Regions from separate parts of the Homo sapiens genome. Here regions 2, 3 and 4 are each linked to region 1. The links are contacts of gene promoters, found by promoter capture Hi-C in human tissues and cell types (Jung and others, 2019). All regions are on one chromosome and are shown on one strand. The core of a region is centred on a gene start or on the middle of the fragment in contact, and the rest is flanking DNA. Distances in the headings are between cores, read along the strand shown.

What was found. Contacts are between HindIII fragments. The study calls those that stand out against the background at their distance.
Region 2: a contact is called between a fragment that was not itself captured here and the fragment with the promoter of GSDMB in region 1, in 1 of the 25 tissues and cell types used here (dorsolateral prefrontal cortex).
Region 3: a contact is called between a fragment that was not itself captured here and the fragment with the promoter of GSDMB in region 1, in 1 of the 25 tissues and cell types used here (spleen).
Region 4: a contact is called between a fragment that was not itself captured here and the fragment with the promoter of GSDMB in region 1, in 1 of the 25 tissues and cell types used here (spleen).

What each region holds. Positions count from the first base shown.
Region 1 is chr17:39,914,643-39,921,938 of GRCh38, forward strand. It overlaps GSDMB (gasdermin B), which reads right to left and starts at 3,993. Exons shown (of 11, transcript NM_001165958.2): 1 at 3,892-3,993; 2 at 2,440-2,688. The coding sequence starts at 2,674. ORMDL3 (ORMDL sphingolipid biosynthesis regulator 3) reads right to left here. Exons shown (of 4, transcript NM_139280.4): 4 at 6,401-7,296. RefSeq lists an enhancer at 1,552-2,041, promoters at 2,593-3,222, 2,773-3,181, 3,905-4,267 and a cis regulatory region at 4,246-4,259. The HindIII fragment of the contact is 12,682 bases long and covers 1-7,296 here.
Region 2 is chr17:39,441,580-39,448,875 of GRCh38, forward strand. It overlaps MED1 (mediator complex subunit 1), which reads right to left. Exons shown (of 17, transcript NM_004774.4): 2 at 6,219-6,325; 3 at 1,971-2,049. Among named protein-coding and RNA genes, the nearest start is that of MED1, 6.0 kb to the right of the region's middle. The HindIII fragment of the contact is 4,288 bases long and covers 2,283-6,570 here.
Region 3 is chr17:40,298,184-40,305,479 of GRCh38, forward strand. It overlaps CDC6 (cell division cycle 6), which reads left to right. Exons shown (of 12, transcript NM_001254.4): 10 at 2,645-2,847; 11 at 3,285-3,425; 12 at 3,729-6,474. The coding sequence ends at 3,818. Among named protein-coding and RNA genes, the nearest start is that of RARA, 7.3 kb to the right of the region's middle. The HindIII fragment of the contact is 4,009 bases long and covers 2,004-6,012 here.
Region 4 is chr17:40,194,578-40,201,873 of GRCh38, forward strand. RAPGEFL1 (Rap guanine nucleotide exchange factor like 1) reads left to right here. Exons shown (of 15, transcript NM_016339.6): 15 at 1-1,073. Among named protein-coding and RNA genes, the nearest start is that of MIR6867, 4.6 kb to the left of the region's middle. RefSeq lists enhancers at 1-366, 1-40. The HindIII fragment of the contact is 6,151 bases long and covers 945-7,095 here.

The DNA.
Region 1 (7,296 bases), core at 2,743-5,242:
ATCCCAGCTACTCGGGAGGCTGAGGCAGGAGAACCACTTGAACCTAGAGGTGAAGGTTGCAGTGAGCCGAGATCGCGCCACTGCTCTCCAGCCTGGGCAATAGAGCGACACTCCATCTCAAAAAAAAAAAAAAAAAAGTTAATGTGAATAAAGTATGGACTTTAATAACAAACACAAAATCCTATGCACACTTTTTTTTTTGTTTTTTTTTGAGACGGAGTCTTGCTTTGTCGCCAGGCTGGAGTGCAGTGGTATAATCATGGCTCACTGTGCAACCTCCACCTCCCAGGTTCAAGCAATTCTCCTGCCTCAGCCTCCCGAGTAGCTGGGATTACAGGCATGCGACACCACGCCCAGCTAATTTTTGTATTTTTAGTAAAGACAGGGTTTTGCCATGTTGGCCAGGCTGGTCTCGAACTCCTGGCCTCAAGTGATCCGCCCGCCTCAGCCTCCCAAAGTGCTGGGATTACAGGCATGCGCCATCATGCCCAGCTAATTTTTGTATTTTTAGTAGAGACAGGGTTTCGCCATGTTGGCCAGGCCAGACTTGAACTCCTGACCTCAAGTGATCCACCCGCCTCAGTCTCCCAAAGTGCTGGGATTACAGGCGCGAGCCACTGTGCCCAGCCCTATGCACACTTTAACTGCACCATCAGCATTATACAGTTACAAAATAACCCATTTAAATAGGGAGCAGACCAAGCTAAAAATCAATTCAAATTACCAATTCCCATCATTGTAAGGATTTTCTTTTTAAGTTTGGTTTCACCTCTGCCTCCGAATTTTGTATGCACACAGATGAGCTTTTCCTTAAAGGAAGTTGACTGACTTAGTCAATTTTTTTTTCCCAGACTTAAACTTTGCCCTGTCCCTGGGGAGTAATATTATTGTGGCAAAACATCCTAGTTCTGGGTTAAAGTATTTTTCCATTTTCAGTGAATTGATCATTTGGCAAACTGATTTTTTTTTTTTTTTTTGAGAGCTGACTTTTAGCAAATTGGCTCTTAGCAATTTACTTTTCAGAGAATTGACTCAGTCTTTGAAAGATGCGAATCTGAAATTTCTCCAAAAGCCCCTTGCTTGCTTAACGAAACTCTGCTTGTGGAAAGGTCCACCACCTCCAAGTAATCTGGGTACTGCTCTTGGTCACTTAAAGCAGTTCCTGGCACACTGTAATACTCTAAAGCTGCTCAGGGCTGTTAGAGCTCTTTTCCGTCTCTTGGCATGAGACCTCATAAAAAGAAATGGACTGTATCAGAGAGGTCTGAGCTATGAGCGCCTTGCTATTGTTCATATTATGAAATATTTTTTCACATTATGAAATATAATGAACTCCTCACCATATTCCACTTTGGGCTCCAAGTGAGAGTTCAACACTTAACCCTGGGGCTTCTGAAACCCAAGTACCCCAGGAATAACTGAGATCAGAGGCAGGGGGTTGGAATAATTGACTCTTCCATAAATTCCCTCAATACCTTAGGGATTTCTGCTCATCAGAAACTTCCCCTTCAGTCTTGATAGCCAAGGAACATGAAAGGATAATAAGAATCACCACCGACCTGGGAGATAACTTTTATTGGGTGCTCCTTTTGTGGCAGGCACTGTGATAAATGATTCACGTAATTTGTTCTCATTTGATTTTTTTTTTTTTTTTTTTTGAGACAGAGGCTTGCTTTGTCTCCCAGGCTGGAGTGCAGTGGCGTGATCTCAGCTCACGGCAACCTGCACCTCCCGGGTTCAAGCAATTCTCTTGCCTCAGCCTCCTGAGTAGCCAGGACTACAGGCGCATGCCACCACGCCTGGCTAATTTTTTGTATTTTTTTTTTTTAAGCAGAGACGGGGTTTCACTGTGTTAGCCAGGATGGTCTCGATCTCCTGACCTCGTGATCCGCCCACCTCGGCCTCCCAAAGTGCTGGGATTACAGGAGTGAGCCACCGCACCCATCCCTCACTTGATTCTTACAACAGTCCTCTAGAGTTGACACAGGAGGAAACTGAAACTTAGAGCAATAAAACAACTTGTCCAAAGGTTACGCAGCTGATAAGAGGCAGAGCCAGGCTTTGAAACCAGGTGCTTCCAGCCCTAAAGCCTGCATCCTTTCTTAACCAGTAAGCAAACTGCCCTCATTTACTTATTCATTTAAATGATAAACACATGAGAAGAGCTCGCTAAATTAAAAGCAGATTATTTTACAAGGGAAAAAATGGAAAAGGAAGACCATTTAGGAACGGTTTCCAGTGGAAATAAATCTCCACTTCTCCCACTCTCCTCCCACCATGCAGCTCTTCCGTGCATTTCTTAAATTAAGGTGTGTGGATGTGTACAAATCCCACAGTTTCGTTGTTGATTGGTTGATAACAATGGGGAATTGAGAAGGAGATGGAGTACAAACGGTCAAGGCCTCCTGGCTGGCCACCTGTCATCTACCTTATACTGACCTTGGAGCCCAGAATCCAGTTCATCTAACCACTTGTCCCCATCTGTGTCCAGAATGTCCATCAGGGTGAGGCCTGTTGTGTAGTGCCGGCATCCAAAGAAAGTTCTCTTCTCCCCCACCAGATGGAAGCAGCGGAATCTATCAGCATCAACAAGGCTTCTAACGGCAATCATATCCCCTCCAGCATCCATCTCCTTAACTACAATTCTTGTGATTTCCTCAAATACGCTGAACATTGCGCCTGGACCAACTCAGAAACAGAAGCCAATTTCAGTTTTTGGGAGGAGGGTATTGGTTCAAGTATTTAAATCTTCCACATTTGGCAGCCTGAGGTGTCAGGCCTCTGAACCCAAGCTAAGCCATCATATTCCCTGTGACCTGCATGTATACATCCAGATGGCCTGAAGCAACTGAAGATCCACAAAAGAAATGAAAATAGCCTTAACTGATGACATTCCACCATTGTGATTTGTTCCTGCCCCACCCTGATACAATATAGTCTCCCCGCCGCCGCCCTTAAGAAGGTACTTTGTAATATTCTCCCCTGCCCTTAAGAAGGTACTTTGTAATATTTCTCCACCCTTGAGAATGTACTTTGTAAGCCTATCCCAAACATATAAGAACTAATGATAATGCCACCACCCTTTGCTGACCCCTTTTTTGGACTCAGCTTGCCTGCACCCAGCCTTGTTGCTCATATAAAGCCCGTTTCGTGGACTCTCTTCACATGGACGCACGTGACATGAGGTCAAGGAAGAGCCAAAGGTTCCAGGACAATCAGTACCTGGAATGATTTGCCTGCCTTACTTCTAGAACGTGAGGCAGCCATGACTCAGTAAAGAGGGCTAAACATCACAGATCCCAGATTCTCCTCTGCCCCTCATGGTACCCATCTGGAGGAAAAAAGTAGCAGCTATTGCCCCAAATAGAGAAAGTGAGACCCATTTTCTACATCTCCCACAGCAGAGTTGCCCCCTTGTTCCAAGGGGCCCAAGGGATGGAAAGGCAGGCCCACCATGCCCCAGCCAGACTAGCCCCAACGTTGATGAACAGAGGAACCAGGGAGGAATGACGGGCACGGTTGCCAGACTTCACATTACTAACCTCAACTGGTCGTTTCTTCCCTTGGCTCTGATTCTTGGGCTCCCTGCCTTGCTGTATTCTGCAAGGCAATTGGATGGGTGCCTCCCTACCAACAATTTCCCAATGAGGTGGTGGTAAATTGGCCTCAGAAGAAACAAAAGCTTCCTGGGATCCACTTCCCCATCCTACCTTTGGCCACCTTCCCCTATATCCCTTCTGCCCAGCACAGGCACTTATCCACTCACTGCTTCCTCCTCTGTCTCTGGCCCCATCATGGTGGTTGACTCTCAGTTCACTACCAACCTGGGAATTCTAGGTGTCTGGAAAGACAGTACCCGGGAACCACAGGCCCATCTCAAGTGGTACCCACCTCCTCTCTGACCTCAGCTGTTCACCAGAAATGGAAGTTGTGAGAATCCCCACAGATCTCTGCACAGTTCCTGGCCTCTGAATCTCAGGAAGCTAAAATAATGAAACTGAAAGTTGTCCAGGTGTGGAACTTCCTGGACGGGTGGGTAGGGCTGGGTGCCCCACCTCCCAAGCCTTTAGATAAGCCACCTTATAACTGAGCTGGAGGCAGATTAAGGCCAGAACCCCCCTTTTTTTTTTTTTTTTGAGACGGAGTCTTGCTCTATCGCCGAGGCTGGAGTGCAATGGCGCAATCTCGGCTCACTGCAAGCTCCGCCTCCCAAGTTCACGCCATTCTCCTGCCTCAGCCTCCCGAGTAGCTGGGACTACAGGTGCCTGCCACCACGCCCAGCTAATTTTTTTGTGTGTGTTTTTTAGTAGAGACGGGGTTTCACCGTGTTAGCCAGGATGGTCTCAATCTCCTGACCTTGTGACCCACCCACCTCGGCCTCTCAAAGTGCTGGGATTACAGGTGTGAGCCACCATGCCCGGCCAGAACCCCTTCTTCTTCTTGTACCTAAGGAGTGGGTAGGAGATCCTGGTATGTATTCTAGGTGAGTGTGGGCCAGACAATGGTGCACACCGTGGCGCCCTGGGCCATGCAATCCAGTGTGTTTGGAATAGAGAAATGGAATATGAGTAGGTATCAAGTGCCAGCAGGCAATGGCTGTGTCTGTGCCAGGGACATGAGGACCATAACCCAGCAGAACCAGCTGCCCAAATGCCATGCGACGGTCAACACTGAAGACCCAGGACAACAGCAGCTAACACCTGGAGGCAACAGGGTGGGCCTGTAAGGAGCACTCAGCCTCCCTCCCCATCTCGTGCTCCCGTGTACACTCTCAAGGAGATGCTGGTCTTCCTTATCTGGATGCCATCTGGCTTCTCCACCTACCTCCTTCTCCAGGGAGAGGCCTCTGACCTCACCCATGTCCTCTCTCAGAGATAACCACCCCGGTGAGCCCAGCCTGTCTTCCAGCCTCTGCATGCCTCAGTTCTGAAAGAACATTTGAAGGGATGACAGGCCAGGCGTGGTGGTTCATGCCTGTAATCCCAACACTTTCAGAGGCCGAAGCAGGCAGATCACTTGAGGCCAGGAGTTCAAGACCAGCCTGGCCAACATGGCGAAACCCCGTCTCTACCAAAAAAAAAAAAAAAAAAAAAATTAGCCAGATGTTTTGGCACACACCTGTAATCCCAGCTACTCAGGAGGCTGAGGCATGAGAATTGCTTGAACCTGGGAGGCGGAGGTTGCAGTGAGCCAAGATGGTGCCACTGCACTCCAGCCTGGGCAACAGAGCAAGACTCAGTCTCAAAAAAATAAATAAATAAATAAATAAATAGACGACAGTGGTGGTAGTAACAATTACAATTATAATAATATGGCTACCATATATTGAGTATTTACTATATGCCAGGCACTGTGCTAATGCTCACAACAGCCCTAAGAGGCATTATCTTTACACAACAGTGGAATAAACTGAAGCTCAGAGAAGTTGACACAGCAACATGGCTAATAAGTGGCAAAGCTGGGATTTGAACCCAGATCGTTGTTGATGTTCTCCAGCACCTCACCCTGACTATACTCTTGCAGGCTGGTGAAAGCAACCAGGGCACCCCTACTCCCAGGAGTGAAAGCAGTGGCTATATTTCTCTTTCCAATACTGTGTGGGCTCTACTCGGACAGGGGTGGTGGCTGGACTTGGGCAAATATCCCACACTCCCTGACACTCACTCCAAGGGTGCTGTGATGGTGGACCGGGGCTAGAGACCCCAGGCTGCTGGGGACAGCTCCTCCCTTCTACCTGGGACTTTGTGCCTCTCCTGGGAATAGCAGCTGATACTCCCCAGAACACGCTGGAAGGTCAGTGCCCTCGTGAGATAAGGATTCCTTGCTATAGGACTCCTCTCTCTCCTAGCCATGTTGGCCTCAGAAAGTCCCCAGAACCTCTTCCCCTGCCACTCAGGCTTATGGTGGGAGGAGGAAGTATGAAAAGTCCCCTCCACTGAAAGGCCAGAAGGAAACGCAGCGCTCCCAAGGGAGAGGTGACTGGGGAAAGGCCTTGGGGAGAGAAGTGAGAAACTGGAGAAGGGCTGGGGATTCACTGGGAAGGACTGAGCACCACTTGGGACCCTGGCTCCACGTGTAAACCATTGCTGGAGTGTCCCCCTCCTTGGCCATGGCACAGGTCACCCCAGCCTCTGGGGCCAAGGCGCAAGACCTGTCGGAGAACAGCCAGGCAAAAGCACAGAGAATTTTGCTCTCTGACTACCGCTGCCGCCGCCAGTTCCCTCACAGCCCCCTTGGGGGATTTCCCTGCTGAAGCCAGCAGAAAGCCCAGCAGTCCCAGCGCCCCTCCTGCCACCGTCAGAGCTGCACTGATGCCCCACCAGCACCTCAGCGGGAGCCGCTGCCCACACCCCTGCCCCCTCCCCTCAGCCTTCCAGGAAGCGAAGGCCAGACACAGGGAAACAGAAACATGTTGCCCTTTTATTTGCGTTTCTCAGAATACTGTACAAAGGGAGTAAAAATCCTATTCACACTTTGCTTAGAAAGATTTTAAGGTGAAAGTTCCCTATGATACACGGGGTGGGAGATGCAGGGTCAGGAGGGAGAAAACAGGCCCAGTGACCTCTCCCGTTCCCTTGGACCCCTGGAAGAGGACACAGGGACCCACACCTTTTCAAAATTAACACTGCCCCTAGTCCAACTGGGGAGGGGAGAAGGCTCCAGCCCAGGCTCAGGCTCCCGGCCTCACTTTCTTCTCTGCAGGCTGAGACAGTGCCTACAGGCCACGTCTTGCCCCTTCCTCTGTGCTGCTTGAGCAGGGATCCTACAGGACTCTCACCACAGACCCCACATGGGGTGGCCTCACAACGCCACATGTGGCTGCCACATGAGAGGCCCTGCCCAGTGCCAGTCTGTATGAGGAAGTTAAGGGGTGAGGGCCTGCAGAGGACCACAGCACCCATCGTTTCTGTCACAGCTTCCCCATACCCCCGCAGGAGTCAGGGCCAAGTTGGACCTGTGCTTACAATGACTCACGGGCCTTTTCCCCACCTGTCTACCCAACAGCCAACCCAGGAGTTAAACCCACAGCAGCCTCCCTCCCCTATTACTATCACATTCTGTGGGTAAATTAACCCTCCAAGCCTGCTTCCCTCCCTGCCCACATCCCAAAGGAGATTGGGTCTAGCTTCTGTCCCTACCCCTCCCTCCCTTACACCAGTCCTCTGCTGCTATGTGGCCCCATTCTTCTAAGTCTCGACTCACTAGCTCTCCTACAGCTCCCCAACCTCCACCAGGCCAGGATGGCAGCAGCCCTGGCCCCCTCACCTCTGGAACCAAGCCATCTACACTCTACCC
Region 2 (7,296 bases), core at 3,177-5,676, 470 kb before region 1:
ACCAACGTGGTGAAACCCTGTCTCTAATAAAAATACAAAAATTAGCCAGGTGTGGTGGTGCGCGCCTATAATCCCACCCTCTCGGGAGGCTGAGGCAAGAGAATCTCTTGAACCCGGTGGGGGCGCAGTGGTTGCAGTGAGCAGAGATCGTGCCACTGCACTCCAGCCTGGGTGACACAGCGACACTCTGTCTCAAAGAAAAAGAAAACAAAAAAAGGTAAAGAAGATAATACTCAGCTGAGACTGGGCAAAGTGGCTCACGCCTGTAATCCCAACACTTTGGGAGGCCAAGGCAGGCAGATCACCTGAGGTCAGGAGTCCAAGACCACCCTGGCCAACATGGTGAAACCCCATCTCTACTAAAAATCCAAAAATTAGCTGAGCATGGTAATGGGCGCCTGTAATCCCAGTTACTCAGGAGGCTGAGGCAGAACAATCACTTGAATCCGGGAAACGGAGGTTGCAGTGAGCAGAGATCGTGCCACTGCACTCCAGCCTGGACGACAGAGTGAGACACTGTCTCCAGAAAAAAAAAAAAAAACCCTCAGCTGAATTAGGTTCATTTCTGGTGGATCACAGTAAAATCTGTTTTTACTTTCATTATTCCCCAAAAATAGAATTAGTCATTATAAGCATGAATAATCAAGCTCATGACTTATATTTTACATTTGCTTTCCTGGAAATTTGCTCCATAAACACCGTAAAAATCTTTTTAGAGTTAAAATGTCCATCTTCTGGACAGGCATGGTAGCTCACGCCTGTAATCCCAGCAATTTGGGAGGCCGAGGCGGGTGGATCACGAGGTCAGGAGATCTATACTATCCTGGCTAACACGGTGAAACCCCATCTCTACTAAAAATACAAAACATTAGCCAGGCGTGGTGGGACGCGCCTGTAGTCCCAGCTGCTTGGGAGGCTGAGCCAGGAGAATCGCTTGAACCCAGGAGGTGGAGGTTGCAGTGAGCCAAGATTGTGCCACTGCACTCCAGCCTGGGTGACAGAGTGAGACACCGTCTCGGAAAAAAAAAAAAAAAAAAAAAAACTTCGCGAGTTGCTGTGGCTCGCGCCTGTGATCCCAGAACTTTGGGAGGCCAAGGTGGGCAGATCACCTGAGGTCAAGAGATCGAGACCAGCCTGACCAACATGGAAAACCCTGTCTCTACTAAAAATATAAAATTACCCGGGCATGGTGGCACATGCCTGTAATCCCAGCTACTTGGGAGGCTGAGGCAGGAGAATCGCTTGAACCCAGGAGGCAGAGGTTGTGGTGAGCCGAGATTCCACCACTGCACTCCAGCCAGAGCAACAAGAGTGAAACTCCATCTCAAAAAAAAAAAAAAAAAAAAAAAAAGTCCATCTTCTTATCGAGATTAATCAGAAATAAATGTGAAGGGAAAAAAAACTTTTCCCAGGTATCTTTTTTTTTTTTTTTTTTTTTTTTGAGACAAGTCTTGCCCTGTTGCCCAGGCTGGAGTGTAATGGCGTGATTTTGGCTCACTGCAACCTCCGCCTCCCCAGGTCACACTGTTCTCCTGCCTCAGCCTCCCGAGAAGCTGGGATTATAGGTGCCCGCCACCACGTCCAGCTAATTTTTGTATTTTTAGTAGAGACAGGGTTTCACCATGTTGGCCAGGCTGGTCTCAAACTCCTGACCTTGTGATCCGCCCACCTCAGCCTCCCAAAGTGCTGGGATTACAGGAGCGAGCCACCGCACCCAGCCTCCCCAGGTATCTTATATTACCCTTCATCATTTATCTTTTAAATCTCTATCAGCCTCCAAAACAGGATCAAAAATAAATGTTTCAAACTTTAGCAAAAAGATCATTCCAACTCCATAAATGAATGCAAGAGCAATATCTAATACATAAAGTTGACCTACCTCAATTTTTTACTTCTAGTTTAAGTATAAAATGGTCCTTCTTGAACTGGGGGTTTTGTGAAATCAGCATATTTCAAAAGTGTTCACAAACCTTTGAGAGCCTTCTGCAATGTCTCCAAACAGCTGACCAAATGTTGATGCCCTCCAGAACTCATCACAACCCTCTTCTCCTGTGTCAAGTGGGAAAACATTTGAGGTGAAAATTAACCAGGCCAACAGTGTTTTAGGTAAACATACACATTATCCTAGTAGTAATATTGCAGGACAGTCTATAGACTCAATATAGTCTATAGATTTTGTAGACTATATAGAGTAACACTGGTCTACAAGTGTTACTCTGTCCATCCATGCAAAATCCATATATATGAGTGTAGAAAAAGGTATTCCTCAGCCAGGCACGTGGCTCATGCCTGTAATTCTAGCACACTGAGAGGCCAAAGCTGAATAATCACTTGAGTCCAGGAGTTCGAGACCAGCCAAGGCAAGATAGAGAGATCCTGTTTCTATTTAGTCAAAAACAAAAAAGAAAACGTTGTATTTCCACATCTAAAACAAAAAAACCTTTAGAGAAATATTAGGAAGAATCAAAATGTAATACATGAGATCTGCCGCCTGTGGAAGTGACCACATGCTAAGATATAAACAGTTAAATAAGATGGCTCAGGAGATTTGGTAGTGTACAAATTTAACAAGGTGATTTGCATGTAATCTGAGAAACACAACCAAATTTTAAGAAAATGAGATTGACTCTAAAAAACAGAACATATAGGCTGGGTGCGGTGGCTCACACCTGTAATCCCAGCACTTTGGGAGGTCAAGGCGGGTGGATCACGAGGTCAAGAGACTGAGACCATCCTGGCCAAAATGGTGAAACCCCGTCTCTACTAAAAATACAAAAATTATCTGGGCGTGGTGGTGCACGCCTATAGTCCCAGCTACTCAGCAGGCTGAGGCAGGAGAATCACTTGAACCCAGGAGGCGGAGGTTGCAGTGAGCCGAGATCACACCACTGCACTCCAGCCTGGCGACAGAGAGAGACTCTGTCTCAAAAAAAAAAAGAAAAAGAAAAGAAACAGAACATGTAGTCCAGAAAAGGGACTTCCAAAGAACAAAAACTTAGCCTAGTTTGAGGCCGGTTGCAGTGGCTCACGCCTGTAATCCCAGCACTTTGGGAGGCCAAGGCGAGCAGATCATGAGGTCAGGAGTTCGAGACCAGCCTGGCCAACATAGTGAAACCCCATCTCTACTAAAAATACAAAAATTAGCCAGGTGTGGTGGTACGCGCCTGTAGTCCCAGCTACTCAGGAGGCTGAGGCAGGAGAATCGCTTGACCCGGGGATGCAGAGGTTGCAGTGAGCCAAGACCACACCATTGCACTCCAACCTTGGTGACAGAGTGAGACTCCATCTCAAACAAAACAAAACAAACAAACAAACAAAAAAAAACTTAGCCTAGTTTTCCTAACCCTATCCAGTGAAGAAGTTTCTCTCTGAAAAACATTCCAGTCCCTAAAAACGTGAACAGTTTTCTGGTATAAGGATAGTTTTCCAGGCTTTTCCATGTTGCAAATAAATCTATCTCACTGCTCTAATTCTCCCTTACAAAACAAAGTAATTTATTAATAATCTGAAATCTCTTGATTCTTGACAGGAGAAGAGGTGCTCTGGTCAATGAATACCAGTATTATGAAAACTGGAAAACTAAATGTTTTGTCATAAATTAATAAATAAGCATACAGTATGTCAGTTGTTGAAAACTCTTTTTTTTTTTTTGAGATGGAGTCTCGCTCCGATGCCCAGACTGGAGTGCAGTAGCATGATCTTGGCTCACTGCAACCTCCACCTCCCGGGTTCAAGCGGTTCTGCTGTCTCAGCCTCCCGAGTAGCTGGGACTACAGGCGCCTGCCACTATGCCCAGCTAATTTTGTCTTTTTAGTAGAGACAGGGTTTTACCTTGTTGGTCAGCCTGGTCTCGAACTCCTGACCTCAGGTGATCGACCCGCCTCAGCCTCCCAAAGTGCTGGGATTACAGATGTGAACCACCACGCCCAGCCATGAAAACTCTATAAAATCTTGATGTACCAATAAAATTAGGTTTCTGAATCTGCAAAACTGAAAAGTAGACAAGCAAAGTCATGGTGACCAAACCAAGAGAGTGGTACCCAAAGAGAGGGCCTTATTAGCCACCTGGAATCCTTCTATCTCACAATGTCTCTCTAATGACAGTATCATTTACAGAACATATTTCAAGCTAGAATTTGGTTGCCTTAAGGAATAAAAATGACAACCTGGGCCAGGCACAGGGGCTCACACCCGTAATCACAGCACTTTGGGAGGCTGAGGCAGGTGGATCACAAGGTCAGGAGTTCAAGACCAGCCTGGCTAACATGGTGAAACCCCATCTCTACTAAAAATACAAAAATTAACTGGGCATGGTGGCGGATGCCTGTAATACCAGCTACTCAGGAGGCTGGGGCAGGAGAATCGCTTGAACCCAGGAGGCGGAGGATGCAGTGAGCCAAGATCCCACCACTGCACTCCAGCCTAGGTGACAGACAGAGATTCCATCTTTAAAAAAAAAAAAAAAAAATGAATCCGCCAGGCACGGTGGCTCACACTGTAATCCTAACACTTTGGGAGGCCAAAGTGGGTGGATCACTTGAGCCCACAAGTTTGAGACCAGCCTGAGCCACAGAGTAAAAACCTATTTCTGGCTAAGCGCAGTGGCTACGCCTGTAATCCCAGCACTTTGAGAGGCCGAGACGGGTGGATCACGAGGTCAGGAGATCGAGACCATCCTGGCTAACACGGTGAAACCCCGTCTCTACTAAAAATACAAAAAGTTAGCCGGGAATAGTGGCAGGGGCCTGTAGTCCCAGCTACTCGGGAGGCTGAGGCAGGAGAACGGCATGAACCCGGGAGGCAAAGCTTGCAGTGAGCCGAGATCGCACCACTGCACTCCAGCCTGGGTGACAAAGCGACACTCCATCTCAAAAAAAAAAAAAAAAAAACGATTTCTACAAAAAATATAAAAAACTAGCTGGGCAGCCGGGCACAGTGGCTCACGCCTGTAATCCCAGCACTTTGGGAGGCAGATCACGAGGTCAGGAGATGGAGACCATCCTGACCAACATGGTGAAACCCCATCTCTACTAAAATACAAAAAATTAGCCAGGCGTGGTGGCGTGTGCCTGTAGTCCCGGCTACTCGGGAGGCTGACGCAGGGGAATCTCTTGAACCTAAGAGGCAGAGGTTGCAGTGAGCCGAGATCGCACCATTGCACTCCAGCCTGGCCACAGAGCAAGACTCCATCTCAAAGAAAAAAAAAAAAAAACTAGCTGGACATGGTTACATGCACCTGTTGTTCCAGATACTAGGAGGCTGAGGTGGGAGAACCACCTGAGCCTGGGAAGTTGAAGCTGCAGTGAGCCATGATCGCGCCACTGCACTTGAGCCTGGATGATAAGACCTGGTCTCAAAAAAAAGAATGAATCAAAAATTCTACTAGTACAGGCTGGGCATACCTAATCTGAAAATCAAAAATCTGAAATGCTCCCAAATCCAAAACCTTTTTAGCATTCCCAATGATGCCACCAAGGATTTCACACCTGACCTCACATAACAGGGTCATAGTCAAAATGCAGTCAAAACGGCTGGACGCGGTGGCTCACGCCTGTAATCCCAGCACTTTGGGAGGCGAAGGCAGGTGGATCACCTGAGGTCTGGAGGTCAAGACCAGCCTGACCAACATGGAGAAACCCCGTCTCTACAAATAATATAAAAATTAGCTGGGCGTGGTGGCGCATGCCTGTAATCCCAGCTATTCGGGAGGCTGAGGCAGAAGAATCACTTGAACCTGGGAGGCAGAGGTTGCAGTGAGCCGAGATCGGGCTATTACAACCCAGCCTGGGCAACAAGAGTGAAACTCCGTCTCAATAAAAAAAAAAAACAAAAAAAAACTTAGTTTCACACACAAAAGTATTAAATATATTATTAAATATGTTGTATAAAATTACCTTCAGGCTATATCTATAAGGTGTTTATGAAACATAAATAAATTATGTGTTTAGACTTGGGTCCCATCCCCAAGATATCTCATTATATATTTGCAAATATTCCAAAATCCAAAACAATCCAAAATCTAAAACACTTCCGGTCCCAAGCATTTCATATAAGGGATATTCAACCTGTAGTATAGATACAATAGACTCCTAAAGTTGAAACCACCATGTATTCAGATGTTTTATGAAGATAGTATGAACACATCTACATGGGGAGCTTAGCGTATTAAGAATAATTATCTAAGCAAAACACTTTACCCACTTCACCACAATCCTTACCATGACTTGACGCACAAGCTTAATGGTTTCACTCCAGGGTCTATTTTGGTTAAATTTTGCATGGAGCCGTTCCAGGAGAGAACTCATCTTACTCAGCTTTTCTGACTCTATGATTTAAATCAGAAAACGTTATCAGTAACTGTTCTATCAAGACCATCCACAGTTTTCCTTGCAAAATAAATTCCCACACTTCATCACAGTAAGAATTCAGTTAAAATATTTTCCAAAATCATTTTACTTCAAAACATCCAAAGAAGACATTTTTAATGGCAAGATGACACACAAGTTATGGGTCTGATGTAAGGAATACCATACCACTGGACTGTTATCTATCCACCTTTTTTTTTTTTTTTTTAAAGACTAAGTTTCACTCTTGATGACCAGGCTGGAGTGTCAAACCCTGTCTCTACCGAAAATACAAAATTAGCCAGATGTGGTGGTGCATGCCTGTAATCCCAGCTACTTGGGAGGCTAAGGGAGGAGAATTGCTTGAATCCAGGAGGCAGAGGTTGCAGTGAGCCGAGATCACACTATTGCACTCCAGCATGGGCAACAGAGCGAAACACTGTCTCAAAAAAAAAAAGAAAGAAAAAAATTAGCCAAGCCTCCTGGCATGTGCCTGTAGTCAGTCCCCAGCTACTCTGGAGGCTGAGGCAGAAGGATCACCTCAGCCTGGGAGGTCGAAGCTTCAGTGATGAGCCTTGATCACACCACTTACTCCATCCTAGGCAACAGAGGGAGACATTGTGTCAAAAAAAAAAAAAAAAAAGTTATTGAACTGGGCTAGAGAGGAAAATTTAAAAAAAAGAAAAAAAATAAATGAAAATGCTGGCTGGGCGGAGTGGCTCACGCCTGTAATCCCAGCACTTTGGGAGGCCAAGGCGGGTGGATCACCTGAGGTTGGGAATTCGAGACCAGCCTGACCAACACGGAGAAACCCCATCTCTACTAAAAATACAAAATTAGCCGGGCTTGGTGGTACATGCCTGTAATCCCAGCTACTCGGAAGGCTGAGGCAGGAGAATCACTTGAACCCAGGAGGCGGAGGTTGCAGTGAGCCCAGATTGCGCCACTGCAC
Region 3 (7,296 bases), core at 2,758-5,257, 380 kb after region 1:
ATATACCAATGTATAGACTTAGATACTGGTTTCTTCCTCCTTTTCAACTTTTCAGATTATCCCCTTTTCCTCCTCCTTTTTCCCCATCAGTAACATTTAGGCTTGTCACTGGCCCCTGTGAGCACCACTAACACAAACATAATTCAAAAAGGTAAAGAGGTTGTAAGTTCTATCTTTTGACTTCTGGTTTGTGCGGGATTGGCTTTTTTCTTTCTTTTTTTTTTTTCTTTTTGTGTAAAACAAGGTCTTGCTTTGTCTCCCAGGCTGGAGTCCAGTGGTGCAATTATGGCTGGTGCGATCATGGCTCACTGCAGCTGCAACCTCCCAGGCCCAAGCAGTCCTCTCACCTCAGCCTCCCCAGCTCCAGCTACTGCTAATTTTAAAATTTTTGTAGAGTCAGTGGGTGGAGGAGTCTCCTTATGTTGCCCAGGCTGGTCTCAAACTCCTGGGATAAAGTGATTCTCCTGCCTCAGCCTCCCACAGCTTTGGAATTACAGGCATGAGCCACCATACCAGGTTGAGATTGGCTTTCAAGGGCTCCAGAAAGCTATAGGGAGAATGACTTTAACTAAATATAAGAAGAAAATTTATAATAACTAGAACTAACTGGGCTTCCTTGAAACATAGTGGGTTCTCCAGCATTGAAGATATTCAGACAAAAGCTGGATAGATGCCACTTGTTGAGATTGTTCTAGAGAGGACTCGGCCAGTGGATAGGGAGTAAAAATAGACTTCTAAATTCCTTTCAATTTTAAGATTCTTTTACTTGATCTGTGATCTCCGGTTTCTCCATTAGTCCTCTGCAGCATCCCTTTGTGGTAATGTAATATTATAGAAGTAAATTGTTGTGGGGCAACTGCAAGTGATTTCAGGAAGTAACTTCAGGTAAAGGTTGTTACAGAACACATTTCTTTGTCTTGGAATTCATGCATCTCCAAACGATAAGGCCATAGTCTTTTTTTTTTTTTTTTTTTTTTTTTTTTGAGACAGGGTCTCGCTCTGTCACCAGGCTGGAGTGCAGTGGCGTGATCTTGGCTCAATGCAACCTCCTCCTCCCAGGCTCAAGCCATCCTCCCACCCCAGCCTCCTGAGTAGCTGGGACCACAGGCACACACCACCACACCCGGCTGTTTTTTTTGTATTTTTAGTAGCGATGGGGGAAACCCATCGCCTTGTTGCACAGGCTGGTCATGAATTCCTGAGCTCAAGCCATTAGTTATTTTTCCTGATCCTCTCCCTCCACCCTCCTATAGGCCCCAGTGTGTGTTGTCCCCACTATGTGTCTATGTGTTCTCATCATTTAGCTCCCACTTAGAAGTGAGAACATGTGGTATTTGGTTTTCTGTTCCTACAGTAGTTTGCTAAGGATATAGTCTTATGAAGCTTATTGGCAGTTTCCCAACCCCTGGCTTTTATTAAGATGATGATATCTGGCCAGGCATGGTGGCTTACGCCCATAATCCCAGTGCTTTGGGAGGCCGAGGAGGGCAGATTGCTTTGAGCTAAGGAGTTCAAGACCAGCCTGGGCAACATGATGAAACCCCATCTCTACAAAAAATACCAAAAAGAAAAAAAAAAAAAAAAAGATGGTGCTATCTGCTAGCATATCCAATGACATTTTCTCAAGTGTTGCTCTACTGCTAATCAGCTTGGGCAAGTGAACCAAACCTCAAAGGTCATTTGGGGAAGCCATCTGAAGGGCTGACATGGCAGCGACTTCACTCTCCACATTTAGCCACTCATTTGATCCAAAATATTCGGTAATTTTCCAACTTTTTTTTCCCTTTCTTTTTTTTTTATATGGAGTTTCACTCTTGTCGTCCAGGCTGGAGTGCAGTGGCACAATCTTGGCTCACTGCACCTCTGCCTCCCGGGTTCAAGTGATTCTTCTGCCTCAACCTCCCAAGTAGCTGGGATTACAGGCGCCTGCCACCACATCCAGCTAATTTTTTGTATTTTTAGTAGAGATGGAGTTTCGCCGTGTTGGGCAGGCTGGTCTCCAACTCCTGACCTCAGGTGATCTGCCCGCCTTGATCTCCCAAAGTGCTGGGATTACAGGCGTGAGCCACTGCACCTGGCCTTTTTTTTCCTTTCTTAATTACCAAGCACAGTCACCATCTTTGCTTCAAGGTTCTGTTATTCTATACCTCTGAGATACTAGGAACTAGCCTGGCATGGTGGCACGTACCTGTAATCCTAGCTACACAGGAGGCTGAGGCAGGAGGATCACTTGAACCCAGGAAGCCAAGGCTGCAGTGAGCCATGATAGTGCCACTGTACTCCAGCCTGAGTGACAGAGATCCTGTCCCAAAAAAAAATACAGTAGTTCTCTGGTCCTTTCATGAGGTGGGTTTTGTTCCTCTGACATTAAATTACATTCCATAGGACAAAACAGCTCACTATTTGGCCCAGAGAAAGGGTAACCCTACTTTTCAAGTCATCCCACATTATTTTGACATCCTTAAGAGAATAGCATTATCTCTCATCCTTTGGCCTCTGGTTAGAGATTTAAAACCTCTGCTTTGCCACCATGTGACTATACTTGAATTTCCTTTAGCTCAAACTTAGTATCATCTGTCTCATCATACATACACACACACAGTATTTTAGAAATCGAATTAAGCTTGGCTTATTTACTTTATAGGTAAATCACCTTCTGAGCCTCTGATTCCCAAGAGGGTTGGTCTTATTCACATATCCCAAGTCATCTCAGAAGTTGATGGTAACAGGATGACCTTGAGCCAAGAAGGAGCACAAGATTCCTTCCCTCTTCAGCAGAAGATCTTGGTTTGCTCTTTGATGCTCTTGATCAGGCAGTTGAAAATCAAAGAGGTCACTCTGGGGAAGGTAAGTTGGGATGGAGCAGATGGAACGGAGGTAGAGATCAGAATCTGCTTTGCAGAGCAGGTATTTTCCAAAAGGCCTATGATACTTCAGCTGATAATAAATTTAAAATGGATTTTAACAGTAAGAATTAATACTGGTACTATATAAAAGGCACCTATTTCCCTTGGATTGTGGTTGAGAGTTTATCATTAATCCTTTCCCTATCCTCCCCTTCATTTCTGCATCTCTCTAGGAAATATATAAAGCCCCTTTCCTACATTACTGTATAGGTTTTCGGGAATATCTACAGAAGCCTGTTCAAAGATTTTATTGAAAAGAGGAAGAAATAGGGTATTCAGATAAGTTTTTGCAAACCCAGACTCAGGTTTCTTAAATGATTAAAGGCTATAAGCAATGTGACTTTTAAGCAGCGTTTGTTCTCCCTTGTTTCCTACCAGTTATATGAAGCCTACAGTAAAGTCTGTCGCAAACAGCAGGTGGCGGCTGTGGACCAGTCAGAGTGTTTGTCACTTTCAGGGCTCTTGGAAGCCAGGGGCATTTTAGGATTAAAGAGAAACAAGGAAACCCGTTTGACAAAGGTACAACTGCTTTTTTGTGACAGTGTTTTTAATTGTCCTATTTTGTAGAGTGATGCTAAAGTAAAGGTTTATTGTTAAACAAGATGACCACAGTTAGTTAAACAAGTCGTTTTTTGTTAGGTAAGGTTTAAGGTGTGTAAAGATGGGAGTGTGATATGAATATTTTTTCAAGCCATTGGAAAAAAAAGTGTTTAACTTGCTTGCCTTTTGTGAGAAAAAGTTTAATATGGTAGAAGTTTGTATACTGACAACTTTGCTTTTGTGAGTTCCCCAGTGTGAAAAATCCTTTTCTCTTCTTTCCAGGTGTTTTTCAAGATTGAAGAGAAAGAAATAGAACATGCTCTGAAAGATAAAGCTTTAATTGGAAATATCTTAGCTACTGGATTGCCTTAAATTCTTCTCTTACACCCCACCCGAAAGTATTCAGCTGGCATTTAGAGAGCTACAGTCTTCATTTTAGTGCTTTACACATTCGGGCCTGAAAACAAATATGACCTTTTTTACTTGAAGCCAATGAATTTTAATCTATAGATTCTTTAATATTAGCACAGAATAATATCTTTGGGTCTTACTATTTTTACCCATAAAAGTGACCAGGTAGACCCTTTTTAATTACATTCACTACTTCTACCACTTGTGTATCTCTAGCCAATGTGCTTGCAAGTGTACAGATCTGTGTAGAGGAATGTGTGTATATTTACCTCTTCGTTTGCTCAAACATGAGTGGGTATTTTTTTGTTTGTTTTTTTTGTTGTTGTTGTTTTTGAGGCGCGTCTCACCCTGTTGCCCAGGCTGGAGTGCAATGGCGCGTTCTCTGCTCACTACAGCACCCGCTTCCCAGGTTGAAGTGATTCTCTTGCCTCAGCCTCCCGAGTAGCTGGGATTACAGGTGCCCACCACCGCGCCCAGCTAATTTTTTAATTTTTAGTAGAGACAGGGTTTTACCATGTTGGCCAGGCTGGTCTTGAACTCCTGACCCTCAAGTGATCTGCCCACCTTGGCCTCCCTAAGTGCTGGGATTATAGGCGTGAGCCACCATGCTCAGCCATTAAGGTATTTTGTTAAGAACTTTAAGTTTAGGGTAAGAAGAATGAAAATGATCCAGAAAAATGCAAGCAAGTCCACATGGAGATTTGGAGGACACTGGTTAAAGAATTTATTTCTTTGTATAGTATACTATGTTCATGGTGCAGATACTACAACATTGTGGCATTTTAGACTCGTTGAGTTTCTTGGGCACTCCCAAGGGCGTTGGGGTCATAAGGAGACTATAACTCTACAGATTGTGAATATATTTATTTTCAAGTTGCATTCTTTGTCTTTTTAAGCAATCAGATTTCAAGAGAGCTCAAGCTTTCAGAAGTCAATGTGAAAATTCCTTCCTAGGCTGTCCCACAGTCTTTGCTGCCCTTAGATGAAGCCACTTGTTTCAAGATGACTACTTTGGGGTTGGGTTTTCATCTAAACACATTTTTCCAGTCTTATTAGATAAATTAGTCCATATGGTTGGTTAATCAAGAGCCTTCTGGGTTTGGTTTGGTGGCATTAAATGGCAATTTGTGACTGAGACACCAGAGGGCACCCTTATAACATTGACTACTTTGAAAGGGGATGCTTGAGGCTGAGGTAGTTTTGAGGGAAAGGGGGAAGTTCTAGTTTGATTTGTTTGGGAGATTGCTGTCCTTTCATAACTGAAGCAAATGCTTGAAATGTAAACCATGTGTGATACGAATGATCTGAGAGCCAGTGACCAAGTCTGCTTTTCCCTGAGCTCTCCTGCTGCCGCCTCTACCTTTCTGACATGGCCTTCCATTTGGAACTTGATATGTGTACAAGTGATCTGTTGGCCACTGTTTCATTCATCCTGACCACTGTATCCGTGTAATGTGATCTGAGCTACAACAGGTGGTATGGGATAGAGGCAAGGAAAGCAGAGAGAGCCCTCTGAAATGAACACTACCCACTGGTGTGTGTAGCACATGATAGTCTGTAGGCATGAGTCTGAATGTTGTTCTCACACTCCTTTACTAGAGTATTCGTTCCCTCTGAAGGTAGTTTGAACATGGAAACACAGTTCTATACCTAGAAGGTTGGAAAGTGTCTGGGACTATAAGGGTTAACATGCATAATTGCAAAGATTGTCCGAAGGCTGATGGAAAGCAGAGACTGAATGGGATTGAGAACAGATGCGAAGCTTGATTTAAATTACATTTTATTGGATGCTGCAGCCTTAAGAGACGTGACTGCTTTACAGTTTGTTTCCACACTGTGGGCAGCTGCTGTCTGTTCTGTGTCCACAGTAGGATCCTGCCCAATAAGGAGCAGCCTCCCCACCTCATTGTGTTTGAGGCTTGGCGCCTTCCTCTTAACTGTAGGGCTTGAGTCAGGAACATGGCTTGACTCGCAGTGGGGCTGCTATGTATCCTCCCTGGCTTCCAGCCAAAATCACATTGGTAGATTCAAAGGGGCCAAATTTCTTTCCCCTCTATCTTTCCCTTTCCCCTGGTTTTGGAAATAGAGTTTTCTGTCTACTGATTTGTTAGTTTCCTTTTCTTCTCCCCTCACTGTCAATTTCTAGGTCATTGCTGCTCTTAAGACTTTAGCAGTTGGAACAGGGTTGGTTCTGTCAATGATGCATGAAGCAGACTTAGTGTCCCTGCTTGGCTTCTGCTGCCCTTGTGGGAGCAAAAGCTGATATATGTTTGTCAGTAAAGTCTTAAGTGTAATTCAGACTGCTGAGGAAGAAAGCCCTTTCCTTGCTGGCTTTTCTCCCTGAAGCTGAGAGCTTCAGGAAGGTGGTAGGAGTTTTAGTGGGATGGGATGGGATGGGCTTGTGGTTAGCAGTTTTTGCCAGGATCATAGGCTGCTTCACTTAGAGTAGTGGCAAAGATGCTGACCTACATTCTTCCTTTTGAAGGTGATGGAGTGTGTGTCTATATCCTGGTTTATCTCTCTCCCCCACCCCAAGGAAGCTGATTAAGCTTCCATAGAGTGTTGGGTGTTGCCATGGAAAGAGCATAGACAAAATAAATTGTGTGTTTCAACCCCAGAGCTGCCACAGATGTTTCTGGCTCAATGGAGACTTGCCTGTGGCTAGCTAACTCTGCAAGAATGTGTGAGGTCCAGGCTGGGGGTGGTGGCTCACGCCTGTAATCCAGCACTTTGGGAGGCCGAGGCGGGCGGATCACCTGAGGTCAGGAGTTTGAGACCAGTCTGGCCAACATGGCGAAACCCTGTCTCTACTAAAATAAATTAGCCAGGCATTGTGGTGTGTTCCTGTAATTCCAGCTACTGGGAGGCTGAGGCAGGAGAATCGCTTCAACCTGGGAGGCAGAGGTTGCAGTGAGCCGAGATCGTGCCATTGCACTCCAGCTTGGGCAGCAGAATGAGACTGTCTCAAAAAGGAAAAAAAAAAATGCTGGGTGTGATGGCTCATGCCTGTAATCCCAGCACTTTGTGGGGCCAAGGCGGGCTGATCACTTAAGGGTCAGGAGTGCAAGACCAGTCTGGCCAACATGGCGAAACCCTGTCTCTACTAAAAGTACAAAAATTCACTGGGTGCCATGGTACACACCTATAATCACAGCTACTTGGGAGGCTGAGACAGGAGAATTGCTTGAGCCTGGGAGGTGGAGGTTGCAGTGAGATGAGATCATGCCACTGTACTCCAGCCTGGGTGACAGAGTGAGACTCTGTCTCAAAAAAAAAAAAAAAATGTGTGAGGTCTAAGCTACCCAGAGATCAAAAAGTTGGCAGAGCCTTATTCTCTCTGCGCCCCCTCTTTTGCATTGCTCCCTACCTTTACTAAGTGTCCCTTTGAATATACATCAAGCCAGGTGTGGTGGCTCATGCCTGTAATGCCAACACTTTG
Region 4 (7,296 bases), core at 2,770-5,269, 280 kb after region 1:
GATGAGAGGGTAAAAGATGCTCAGGGAAACACAGGCCTCAGCTGCCTAGAGGACCCTCCCCCTGCCTTGCAGTGGGCTCGGGTAGAGCAGTATCAGGAGCTAGGGTTGTCTGCTGCCCACACTCCTGCTTTTTGGGATATCTAACTGCTAAGGAGGGAGTTGACATCCCCCTTCTGGCTCATGTGTCTGACACCAACAACATGGTCTCTGTCCCTCTCTCTTTGACTCTCCCTTTGTCCTCCCCATAGAGCTGGGGTGGGGTGGATCCCTATACCTGGGGCAGGCAGCCCCAAAGTGGGGGAGGGGGATGGCAGAGACTGTAAAGGCGCCACTGGACTCTGGCAAGGCCTTTATTACCTTTACTCCCCTCCCTCTCCCATCACCAGCCTCAAGGCCTGAGGGGTGCAGGGGCTCCTGGCAGCTACTGGGTGAGGTTTCCTGGCACAGACTCACCCTTCTTTCTGGCACCACCTCTTTCCCTTTTGAAGAGACAGCAACAGCCGTAGCAAAAGCAGCTGCTGCTCCTGCTATGAGGGTGTATATATTTTTTACCCAAAGCTCTGGAATTGTACATTTATTTTTTAAAACTCAAAGAGGGAAAGAGCCTTGTATCATATGTGAACATTGTATCATAGGTAATGTTGTACAGACCCTTTTATACAGTGATCTGTCTTGTTCCTGCAGCAAAAATCCTCTATGGACATAGGAGGTGCTGTGTCCCATGCCCTCTTGCCCTGACAGTGTCCCATGGGCCCCCTTCTGCTCCCTGCCCCCTCCCTGCTACTGCTGATGCACTCTCCTCTCCCTGCAGCCCCTGGCTTCCCAGCCTTCCTCCTGACCCCTTCCAACAGCCTTGGAACTCCAGCTGCCACCACCCTCTGGGTCGGACACTGGGACCCACTGGCCCAGTCTTGGCTGCTGCTTACCCCTAGCCTTGATGCCTGCCCAGGGACCCCCAGCCCCCTCCCGTTGCCCTGCAGCTTTAACAGAGTGAACCATGTGTATTGTACAGGCGCGGTTGTCATTGCAGAAACCGCTGGGTGGAGAAGAAGCCGATAAAGTCTATGAATCAACCTGCCTGTTGTTCTCCATTCTGTTTTCTTTGAGGCTGTGGAAGTGCTGAGGGAGGGGAGAGGGGATGGCCGCCCAGTGCTGTCAGGAGCAGGGCTGTTCTGGAGTGACTTTGAAAATGTGGGTGGCGGGGTACAGTGGCTCATGCTTGTAATCCCAGCACTTTGGGAGGCCGAGGCGGGCAGATCACCTGAGGGCGGGAGTTCGAGACCAGCCTGGCCAACATGGTGAAACCCTGTCTCTACTAAAAATACAAAAATTAGCCAGGTGTGGTGGTGCATGCCTGTAATCCCAGCTACTTGGGAGGCTGAGTCAGGAGAGTAGCTTGAACTCAGGAGGCGGAGGTTGCAAGGCGCAGTGGCTCTCCAGCCTGGGCAACAGAGCAAGACTCTGCCAAAAAAGAAAATGTGGATGAGAGGAAAAGATGCCAACCTCACAAGACATGTCACATAATGCCTGGAACTCAGAAGAGGGGATGGGATGTTTTCGTTCATACATGTTCCAGGTGGCATAAATATGAGATCACATTTAATTCTAATGCTAAGGTAGAAGATTGAGGCACAGCAGTCCCAGAATAATTACTAGTGAGGGCACTGGTCCCCTAACCCAGGTCTGTCCCCTGAAGACAGCATGTACTGTTCACACAACCAATATTTACCAGTTCTACTAAGTTTTGTTTTGTTTTGTTTTTTTTGAGACGGAGTCTTGCTCTGTTGCCCAGGCTGGAGTGCAGTGGCGTGATGTCTGCTCACTGCAAGCTCTGCCTCCCAGGTTCATGCCATTCTCCTGCCTCAGCCTCCCAAGTAGCTGGGACTACAGGTGCCCACCACCATGCCGGGCTAATTTTTTTTTTAATATTTTTAGTAGAGATGAGGTTTCACTGTGTTAGCCAGGATGGTCTGGATCTCCTGACCTCGTGATCTGCCCACCTCGGCCTCCCAAAGTGCTGGGATTACAGGCTTGAGCCACTGCGCCTGGCCCAATCCTACTAAGATTATAGGGTGCAGAGAGCCTAGCGTTAGGCTTAAATGATAGCCTGAGTTCCAGGAGACATCATACACTCAAATAGCTATACCTGGGCCCTTGATAATCCCCATTCACATCTGTTTCTGCCTCAGTCTTCTGCATCTCAGAAAAATGATCCTCTCATCCACCCAGGTTTTCTCTCTCTGTTGCCCAAGCTGGAGTGCAGTGGCGTAATCTTGGCTCACTGCAACCTCTGCCTCCCAGGTTCAAGTGATCCTCCTGCCTCAGCCTCCTGAGTAGCTGGGATTATAGGCAGAGGCCACCACACCCGGCTAATTTTTGTATTTTTAGTAGAGATGGGGTTTCACCATGTTGGTCAGGTTGGTCTCAAACTCCTGACCTCAAGTGATCCACCCACCTCAGTCTTCCAAAGTGCTGGGATTACAGCTGTGAGCCACTGCCCAGCCACCTACCCAAGTTTTCAAGGCAAAAATACAGGACTCACCATTGGTGCCTCTTTCTCCCACCCTTCATTCATCTCAGCCAGTCCCATCGGCTACAATTCCAGAGCATTTTCTGAGTGATCCACTTCTGTATGACTCCCCTATGACCATACTAGTCCAAACCACCTTCATAGCTTCCCTGCATGACTACTGCAGCCTCCTACCTGGTCTGTCAGCTTCCTCTCTTTGATCCACCCCTACCTGCCACCAGTTTGATTTCCACATGGCAGCCAGGGTGTTCTTTCAGAAACACCAATCACGCTGGGCATGGTGGCTCAAGCCCATAATCCTAGCACTTCGGGAGGCTGAGGCAGGAGGATCGCTTGAGCCCAGGAGTTCAAGACCAGCTTGGGCAACATAGTGAGACCCTGTCTCTACAAAAAATAAAAAATTAACGAGGCTGCAGTGAGCTGCGATAGCACCACTGTACTATAGCCTGAGCAACAGAGTGAGACCCTGTTTAAAAAAAAAAAAAAAAAGAAAGGAGAGCAAGGGAAGGAGGGAGGGAGGGACAGAGGGAGGGAGAGAGGGAGGGAGGAAGGAAAGAAGGAAGGAAGGAAGGAAGGAAAAAAACCCAGTGTCTTTCAACACATGAATGGACAAATGCATTGGGGCATATTCTTATGGTGGAATACTATATAGCAAGAAAAAAGAACAAATTATTAATACCCACGTGAATGAATCTCACAGACTTAATGTTGAATAAAGGAAGCCAGACACAGGCTGGGTATGTTGGCTCACACCTCTAATCCCAGCACTTTGGGGGCCTGAAGTAGGAGTGAGAGGTGAAGCTGGCTGGGCTTCTGGGTCAGGTGGGGACTTGGAGAAGTTTTCTGTCTAGCTAAAGGATTGTAAATGCACCAATCAGTGCTCTGTGTCTAGCTAATCAGGTAGGGGACTTGGAGAACTTTTCTGTCTAGCTAAAGGATTGTAAAAGCACCAATCAGCGCTGTGTGTCTAGCTAAAGGTTTGTAAATGCACCAATCAGTGCTCTGTGTCTAGCTAAAGGTTTGTAAATGCAGCAATCAGTGCTCTGTGTCTAGCTAAAGGTTTGTAAATGCACCAATCAGCACTCTGTAAAAACGAACCAATCAGCACTCTGTAAAACGGACTAATCAGCATTCTGTAAAATGGACCAATCAGCGCTCTGTAAAATGGACCAATCAGCAGGATGTGGGTGGGGCCAGGCCACCCGAGCCAGTAGCGGCAACCCACTGGGGTCCCCTTCCACGCTGTGGGAGCTTTGTTCTTTTGCTCTTTGCAATAAATCTTGCTGCTGCTCACTCTTTTGGTCCGCACTATATGAGCTGTAGCACTTACCACAAAGGTCTGCAGCTTCACTCTTGAAGCCAGCGAGACTACGAACCCACTGGGAGGAACAAACAACTCCAGAAGCGCCACCTTTAAGAGCTGTAACACTCACTGCTGAAGGTCTGTGGCTTCATTCCTGAAGTCAGGGAGAGGACGAACCCACCAGAAGGAAGAAACTGGACACATCTGAACACCTGAAGGAACAAACTCCGGACACACCATCTTTAAGAGCTAACACTCACCGTGAGGGTCTGTGGCATCATTCTTGAAGCTTCATTCTTGAAGTCAGCAAGACTAAGAACCCACTGGAAGGAACCAGTTCTGGACACAGGAGGATCTCTTAAGCCCAGGAGTTCAAGACCAGCCTGGCCAACATAGTGAGACCCCTATCTCTACAAAAAATAAAAAATGTAGCTGGGCATGGTGTGTCGCGCCTGTAATCCCAGCACTTTGGGAGGTTGAGGCAGGAGAATCCCTTGAGTCCAGGAGTTTGAGACCAGCTCAGGCAACATAGGGAGACCTTGTCTCTACAAAAAAATAAAAAAATAGGCCAGGTGCGGTGGCTCATGCCTGTAATCCCAGCATTTGGGAGGCCGAGGTGGGTGGATCACCTGAGGTCGGAAGTTTGAGACCAGCTGACCAGCATGGAGAAACTGTCTCCACTAAAAATACAAAATTAGCTGGGCGTGGTGGCACATGCCTGTAATCCCAGCTACTCGGGAGGCTGAGGCAGGAGAATCGCTTGAACCTGGGAGGCAGAGGTTGTGGTGAGCTGAGAGCGTGCCATTGCACTCCAGCCTGGGTAACAAGAGCAAAACTCCATCTCAAAAAAAAAAAAAAGGCTGGGCAGGGTGGCTCACGCCTGTAATCCCAACACTTTGGGAGGCTGAGACCTATGGATCACGAGGTCAGGAGTGCAAGACCAGCCTGGCCAAGATGGTGAAACACCATGTCTACTAAAAAATACAAAAGTGAGCTGGGCATGGTGGCAGGCACCTATGTAATCCCAGCTACTCAGAAGGCTGAGGCAGATAATTGCTTGAACCCGGGAGGCAGAGGTTGCAGTGAGCCGAGATCGTGCTACTGCACTCCAGCCTGGGCGACAGAGTGAGACTCCGTCTCAAAAAAAAAAAAAAAAAAAGCCATATATGGTGGTGCATTCCTGTAGTCTCAGCTACTTGGTAAGCTGGGGTGGGAGGATTGCTTGAGCCTGGGAGCTCAAGGCTGCAGTGAGCAGAGATCATGCCACTGTATTCCAGCATGGGCGAAAGAGGGAGACCGTGTCTCAAAAAAAGAAAAAAAAAAAGCCAAGCATAGTGGTGCATGTGTGTAGTCCCAGCTACTCAGGAGGCTGAGGTGGAAGGATTGTTTAAGCCCAGGAGTTCAAGGCTGCAGAGAGCTATGATTGCACCACTGTACTCCAGCCTGGGTGACAGAGTGAGACTCTTTCTCTTAAAAAAAAAAAAGAAAAAGAAAAAAAGGCCGGGCACGGTGGCTCACGCCTGTAATCCCAGCACTTTGGGAGGCCGAGGCGGGTGGATCACGAGGTTAGGAGAGTGAGACCATCTTGGCCAACATGGTGAAATCCTGTTTCTACTAAAATACAAAAAAATTAGCTGGGTGTGGTGGCGTGCGCCTGTAATCCCAGCTACTTGGGAGGCTGAGGCAGGGGAATCGCTTGAACCCGGGAGGGAGAGTTTGGAGTGAGCTGAGATTGCGCCACTGCACTCCAGCCCGGCGACAGCGACAGAACAAGACTCAGTCTAAAGAAAAAAAAGGCTGGGCGCGGTGGCTCACGCCTGTAATCCCAGCACTTTGGGAGGCGGAGGCGGGCGGATCACGAGGTCAGGAGATCGAGACCATCCTGGCTACCAGGGTGAAACCCCGTCTCTACTAAAAATACAAAAAAGTAGCCCGGCGTGGTGGTGGGCGCCTGTAGTCCCAGCTACTCCGGAGGCTGAGGCAGGAGAATGGCGTGAAACCGGGAGGGGGACCTTGCAGTGAGCCGAGATGGTGCCACTGCACTCCAGCCTGGACGACAGAGCGAGACTCCATCTCAAAAAAAAAAAAAAATTTAGGCCGGGCACGGTGGCTCACACCTGTAATCCCAGCACTTTGGGAGGCCAACGCGAGTGGATCACCTGAGATTGGGAGTTCAAGGCCAGCCTGACCAAGACGGAGAAACCCTGTCTCTACTAAAAACACAAAATTAACTGGGTATGGTGGCGCATGCCTGTAATCCCAGCTACTAGGGAGGCTGAGGCAGGAGAATCGCTTGAACCTGGGAGGCGGAGGTTGTGGTGAGCTGGGATGGCACCACTGCACTCCAGCCTGGGCAACAGAGCCAGACTCCATCTCAAAAAAAAAAAAAAAAAGTTCAAGAGCAGGCTAAATTAATCTACGGGGATAGAAGTAAAAATAGGCTGGGCACGGTGGCTCATGCCTGTAATCCCAGCACTTTGGGAGGCTGAGGCGGGCGAATCACGAGGACAGGAAATCGAGACCATCCTGGCTAACACGGTGAAACCCCGTCTCTACTAAAAACACAAAAAAAATTAGCCGGGTCTGGTGGCGGGCGCCTGTAGTCCCAGCAACTCGGGAGGCTGAAGCAGGAGAATGACGTGAACCCGGGAGGTGGAGCTTGCAGTGAGCCGAGATCATGCCACTGCACTCCAGCCTGGGCGACAGAACAAGACTCCGTCTCAAAAAAAAAAAAAAAAAAAGAAGTAAAAATAGTGCCTACTCAATAGGGTAGGGGAAAGTATTGACCGTGAAGGGGCATGAAGAAGCCCTGTGGGGCGATAGAAATGTTCCATATCGGCCAGGCGCGGTGGCTCTCGCCTGTAATCCCAGAACTCTGGGAGGTCGAGGTGCGGGAGGCTGAGGCAGGAGAATCACTTGAACCCGGGAGGTGGAGGTTGCAGTGAGCTGAGGTTGCACTGAGCTGAGATCGGGCCACTGCACTCCAGCCTGGGCAACAGAGTGAGGAATAAATAAATAAATAAATAAAAGAAATGTTCCATATCGTGACCTGGGGGTGGGTATACAAGTGTGTCTATCTGGCTTGTTGAGTTGGTCATGTAAAATTTGTTAAGTGTTACCGTAGCTACATTACACCATAAAGCAATTCAGATTCTGACAGTCCACTGTTTTTAATAACAGATTTAAAATAAAAAATTCTCCCTTCCTGGCCAGGCATGGTGGCTCACACCTATAATCCCAGGACTTTGGGAGGCTGAGGCAGGCAGATCACTTGAGGTCAGGAGTTCAAGACCAGCCTAGCCAACATGGTGAAAGCCTGCCTCTACTAAAAATACAAAAATTAGTTGGGTGTGGTGGCGGTCACCTGTAGTCCCAGATACTCGGGAGGCTGAGGCAGGAGAATCAGTTGAACCCAGGAGGCGGAGGTTGCAGTGAGCCGAGATCCCAACACTGCACTCCAGCC